Regions from separate parts of the Homo sapiens genome. Here region 1 is linked to region 2. The links are contacts of gene promoters, found by promoter capture Hi-C in human tissues and cell types (Jung and others, 2019). All regions are on one chromosome and are shown on one strand. Each heading gives the region's core, a stretch centred on a gene start or on the middle of the fragment in contact. The rest is flanking DNA. Distances are from core to core; before and after follow the strand shown.

Region 1 (2,700 bases), core at 169-2,668, 69 kb before region 2:
AGGAAGCCACCCCATGACCCAGAGGAGGGCCCCAGCCATGGCTTCCTGTGTCTTCCACAGTGGGATGGGCTGCTCAAGCCCCCACACTCTCTGGCCCTCTTTGCTACTAGAGGAGTTGGCCAAGGGGGCCAGGCAGGAGTGGGCCAGGACTGCAACATGGGACTCTGCTGAGGCCCAGCTGCAGGCTCAGAGCTTAGCCTGGGCAAAGGCCTCCGCCACAGGCAGTGGGACTGTGGCACTTGGTGTGTGCCCCATTCTTTCCTGCCAGGCTGACTTTTTTTTTTTTTTTTTTTTTTTTGAGACGGAGTTTCGCTCTGTCCCCCAGGCTGGAGTGCAGTGGCGCCATCTCAGCTCACTGCAAGCTCCGCCTCCTGGGTTCAAGCCATTCTCCTGCCTCAGCCTCCTGAGTAGCTGGGACCACAGGCACCCACCACCACACCTAATTTTTTTTGTATTTTTAGTAGAGACGGGGTTTCACCATGTTAGCCAGGATGGTCTCGATCTCCTGACCTCGTGATCCGCCCACCTCGGCCTCCAAAAGTGCTGGGATTACAGGCGTGAGCCACCGCGCCCAGCCTGCCCGGCTGACTTTCATGGGGTGTTCTCATTCTCTGTCCACAACTCTCCCCACCCCTCAAAGCCCAGCTGGGAGGCCCTGCTCTCTCTTCTGAAGCTGCCACTTTCTACTTGGTCTAAGCATCCACCTTCCGTTTCCCAACTAGGCTGAGAGCCCCCACCCCACCTCATGGGGCACCTGGGCAAGGGTGGTTGGCACTTGAGTGTCACTGCAAGGGCTTTTTCTTTTTTCTTTTTTTTTTTTGAGATGGGAGTCTTACTCTGTCACTCAGGTTGGAGTGCAGTGGCGTGATCTTGGCTCACTGCAACCTCTGCCTCCTGGGTTCAAACGATTCTCCTGCCTCAGCCTCCCGAGTAGCTGGGATTACAGGCACGTGCCGCCATGCCCAGCTAATTTTTTAGTAGAGATAGGGGTTTCACCATATTGGGCAGGCTGTTCTTGAACTCCTGACCTTGTGATCCACCTGCCTTGGCCTCCCAAAGCCAGGGACTTTTTATTTCTCCCTGGCCTCTTTGAAATAAAATCATGCTCTTCCCATGGTTTTCCCCATCTCAGGAAATGGGCCCTCCATCCTTTCTCTTGTTTGGCAGCGGGGGGGTTCCCTCTCTTCACACCCATATCCTGGCCGCCTCTCCTTGCCAATCCCAGCCCAGTCCCCTGCCGGGCTGACCCCTGCAACTCCCTAAGCACCAGTCTTAAGGAGCATGCCCAGCATGTCCAAGCCCTACCCAGCTGCTGTGTCACATCTGAATGTGACACGTCACCTCTTTCTTCTTTTTAGGGTCCACCTGTCTCCTTTACCAGAAGCAAAGCTCCATGAGGGCAGGGATGTTTATCTATTTGGCTCACTGCTGTAGCCAGCACCCAGACAGTGTAGTGCAGAGCAGGCACCCACTCAGGACTAGTTGTAGAAAAGATGAAGGTCGTTCTCTGCTCTCCACAACCTACAGCCTTGTCCCAGACACAAAGCAGGAGAAAATGCTGAGTGCTGTCTGCTCCCGCCTGTGAGGTCCCTTCCTATCCCCCAGCCCCGGGCCCCTGGTCACTGGGTAAAGCCCAGCTCCACCTCTGACCTGGTCAGCCTAGGCTGGGCTGGCCAAGGCCTGGCAGGGGCCACAAGTTGCCACATGCAGGGTGGTGGCCAGACATCAACTTCATCTCTGCCCCCTCTTCCCGTACCCCTTATTGTGCTGGGCTCTCCGGAACAGATATCTGCCTAGCCAAATCCAGCCGGTCTGTCCAGGCCACTATCACTGCCTATACCACCTGCCCATGGGCCAGTGTCCACCCATAGGCCAGACTTCCCAAGGGGGTGCCTAAGTCTGGGTCTTAGCTGCATCAGTAAGAGGGTTACAGTCATAAGACCCTCCTCACAGCCTCTCAGGAGGACTCTGAGCTCATCACTGGAAGGCGCCTAGAACCTCAGAGCTCTTTGAACATTTTCGCTGCAGTCATTTTTGCTATTTCCCAGGCACTGCTGTAAGTCCTGGAAATACGGGAATGAACAAGACAGCAAAATACCTGCTGCCATAGAGTGAGCTTATATTGTAGTTAGGGAATGGAGAACAGAAAGTTCATCTGTATACAGATAAACTCAATGGAGAAAAAAGTTACAAAAAAACAGCAAGTGCAAGGCTCTGAGGCAGGACCAAGCTTGGCAGACAGATGGAGAGAGGCCGGGAGCACAGTGAGGGGAGGAGGTGAGGTCAGGGAGAAGGGCAAATCCACTGTGACCTGAGCTGGTGCCTTCTGGGTGTGGGAGGACTTAGCTGCAGGGGCCTGGGAAGGGCACAGCCCCAGCATCCTGGCTCCACACCACTGGCCTGCACTGCCCTTCTTGGTGCCTCAGTTTCTCGTCTGCCAAATGAGGGCCGACCCCCACTGGCACTGGATGACTCTGATGCTCCTGGCCACACCCTAACACCTATTTAGTACCTGGATGTGGATGGAGGCCCATGGCCTTTGGAGAATTCTAGAATCTCAACAGGAAAGACCTCAAAGAGCACCAGGTCCAAGACCCATGTGTGATGCCCACTCCCAGTGGTGCCTCGGGCCACTTCTCCACAACCAGCTGCATGCATTCCATCAACAGTTGGCTCTCAGGTGACAGTCTATGCTGGGCA
Region 2 (2,700 bases), core at 32-2,531:
CTTCCTGCTGCACCCCAGCTCAGGAACCCCACCATACACACACCCAGGCGCACTCCCCTCCCCACTCCCGGTTCCAGAACTCACTATTTGCAGATATTTATAGCGCCCTCCCTCAGCCAGGTTCCCTCCCCCGCCCTGGGCAGAGCAATGCAAGGAGCCGGGGGCCCCCACCCCGGTAAATGGCCGGGGGCCCTCTCCACATTTGCCTCTGCCTGGTCCCCAGGGGTAGCTACGGCCGCAGCCCCCGCACCCGCCCAGCCCCCGACTGCGCTTGGGCCTCGGCTGCCGCCGCCGCAGTCTGGGGTCGGGGGTGGGGAAGGCGGGCGCGGAGGCCTCCCACCCCAGCCCCGCGCCGCGCCGGAGGTTGTGGGGGAGCCGCGCCGGAGGCTGGGGGGTGCCGCGCACAAAGCACGGCTCGAGCCCCGCGCCTCGGGGACGTCCCCCGCCCGGCCGTGGGAGGGGGTCGGGCGCTGAGGCTCTGCCCTCCGGGGACCGGGGAGCTCGGAGGAGCGGCGGGTAGGGGGAGGGGGCCCGCGCCGAGCGGCTTCCCCGGCATCCCGCCCCCACCGCGGCCTCCGGGCCCCCAGCCCCAGTGCGCCCGCGCCCGCCCCCTAAGGTCACGCTCGGGGAGTGGGCCGCGGAGCCGGGCGGGGGGCGCCAAGCGCAGCGCGGGAGGGCGGGCAGCGCGGGGATAGAGGGGCCGCGGCGCCCCCCAGGACGCCGGGGTCAACTCACCCATCGCCCGCTGGGTCTCAGCAACGGCGGCAGCAGCGGCGGCGGCGGCTCCGCGGCCCCCGGGGTCCCCGGCGGGGAGATGCTGGCGTCCGCCGCAGCCTCTCGCCCCATCCCGGGCTCCGGCGGCAGCGGCTGCGGCGGGCGCCCGGCATCGCAGGCAGCGCGGCCCCGGCCCGGCCCCGATCCCCTCCCCCCACCCCCACTTCCACCCCGTCCCGGGGACCCGGCGCGGCCGCTCGGCTGCACCCCGGGGCGGCGGCGGGGGCCCGGCGAGCGGACGGGCGCGGGGGAGGGACCGCGGCGGGCGCGCGGGGGGCGCGGAGGCGAGGCCGAGCGCGGCGCGCAGGGGTGCCCGCTCCCGCCGGCTCAAGCGGCTCCGGCCCCCACCCCGCCCCCTCCGCAACCCCCTCCCCTCCCCCGCCAGCCGGGCTCCGCCGCCGCGCCGGGCCGGGGGCGCCTCGCACCGCAGACTCCGGCCGCCGCCGCCCCGCGCCGCCCGCGCGTGCTGGATCGAGTGTGTGCGTGTGCGAGCGAGTGTGTGTGAGTGCGAGTGTGCGCGCGCCCCTCCTGTGACCGTGCGTGCGCCGGCCCACGGCCCGGGGCGGCCTGCGCGGGGGCGTGTGCGGGGAATGCGGGTAGTTCGGAGTGCGGGCCTGGTGTGCGTGCGGGGCAGCAAGTCCCGTTCTGTGTATGCGTGGACGGGTGCGTTCCGCAGCGTGCCCGGGTCGGTGTGACTCCGTGTGCCCGAGTCTGTGCCTGTGTGTGCATGGACGTGCAGATCCGTGTTGCGGTGTGTGCGTGGATGCGCCTGTGCCCGCGTGAACCTGGGCCGGGATTTCGCATAGGCATCTGTGACCATGTGCAGAGGCCTGGGCCTGTGATGTGTGCACGGTGCCGGGCCTGTTACGGTGTCTGCAGAGTCTGTGTGTCTGCTTGGGGCGTGGGTGACCGCTGTACACCGGCCTGTGTCCTTCCGTCCGACCCCCTCCGTCCCTCACATGCCCGAAGCCACCTGCGCACTCCTGGGGTAACTGGGGGGGCCTCCCCTCCCCCGCCCCCCTCACCCGGCCACCCTAGGCCCGGTCGGCCCTGCCAACCCTCTTGAGCCTACTCTCCTGCCACTTGCCCACCAGCGGTTCTCCGAGGGCCCACCGTGTCGTGCCCTGGCTCCTCGTGGCCTTGCTCTAGGCCATTCCTCTCAGGGCTCAGAGGCGTCCCCCACGTGTTTCCCGCCTTTCAAGTGGTTCCGTTCTGGGGCCTACAGAGCAGCCACTTCCTCCCGCGGTGCGAGGCACAAGGCATTGTGGGTACGCAGCAGACATCTCTGCGCCGCCATCGTCGAAGGTGCAGGGATGCGCTACCTATTCTATATCCCAGCGAATGTGCTCCAGAATAGTCCCAGAGGCCTTTGCTGAACCATCCGGGCTGCCTAGGGCTGGTCTACCTGCTCCAGGTGCCTCCGTGCCCAGCTTCATCCATCCTTGCTGAGGAGGCAGAGTGATCCTACTCCAACATTCACTTGAGCAGGTCACTCTCCTGCCTGCACCTTCAATGGCTCCCACTTGCCCTCAGCTTAAGTTCAGTGCCTGGGCGGGGCACAGGGAGCCCCTGGTGACCTAGTCTTGCCCCCTTCTTCAACGTCACCCTCACTGCTCTTTTCTTCCTGGAGGCTCTCTCTAAGCAAGGGTGGGCAAACCATTTGCTTTAAGAGATTGATTGTAAATCTTTTAGGCTTTGCCAGCCATATGGTCTCTGTCCCAACTACTCAACTCTGCCATCGTAGCATAAAATCAACCATAGACAATACGTAAAAGAATGAGCCTGGCGGTGTTCCAATAAAACTTTATGGACACAAAAATTTGAATTTCGTGTCATTTTCACGTGTCCAGAAACATTTTTTGATGTTTTCCCAACCATTTGAAAGTGTAAGATCCATTCCTAGTTCCTATCACTCTAAGCACATTC

The links. Contacts are between HindIII fragments. The study calls those that stand out against the background at their distance.
Region 1: a fragment that was not itself captured here is called in contact with the fragment with the promoter of MGAT3 in region 2 in 4 of the 25 tissues and cell types used here (H1 embryonic stem cells, IMR-90 fibroblasts, dorsolateral prefrontal cortex and 1 more).

The regions. Positions count from the first base shown.
Region 1 is chr22:39,524,309-39,527,008 of GRCh38, reverse strand. No RefSeq gene overlaps it. Among named protein-coding and RNA genes, the nearest start is that of ATF4, 5.1 kb to the right of the region's middle. RefSeq lists enhancers at 2,389-2,438, 2,539-2,588. The HindIII fragment of the contact is 7,295 bases long and covers 1-2,700 here.
Region 2 is chr22:39,455,593-39,458,292 of GRCh38, reverse strand. It overlaps MGAT3 (beta-1,4-mannosyl-glycoprotein 4-beta-N-acetylglucosaminyltransferase), which reads right to left and starts at 1,281. Exons shown (of 2, transcript NM_002409.5): 1 at 736-1,281. RefSeq lists silencers at 156-285, 296-565, 1,296-1,355. The HindIII fragment of the contact is 12,980 bases long and covers 1-2,700 here.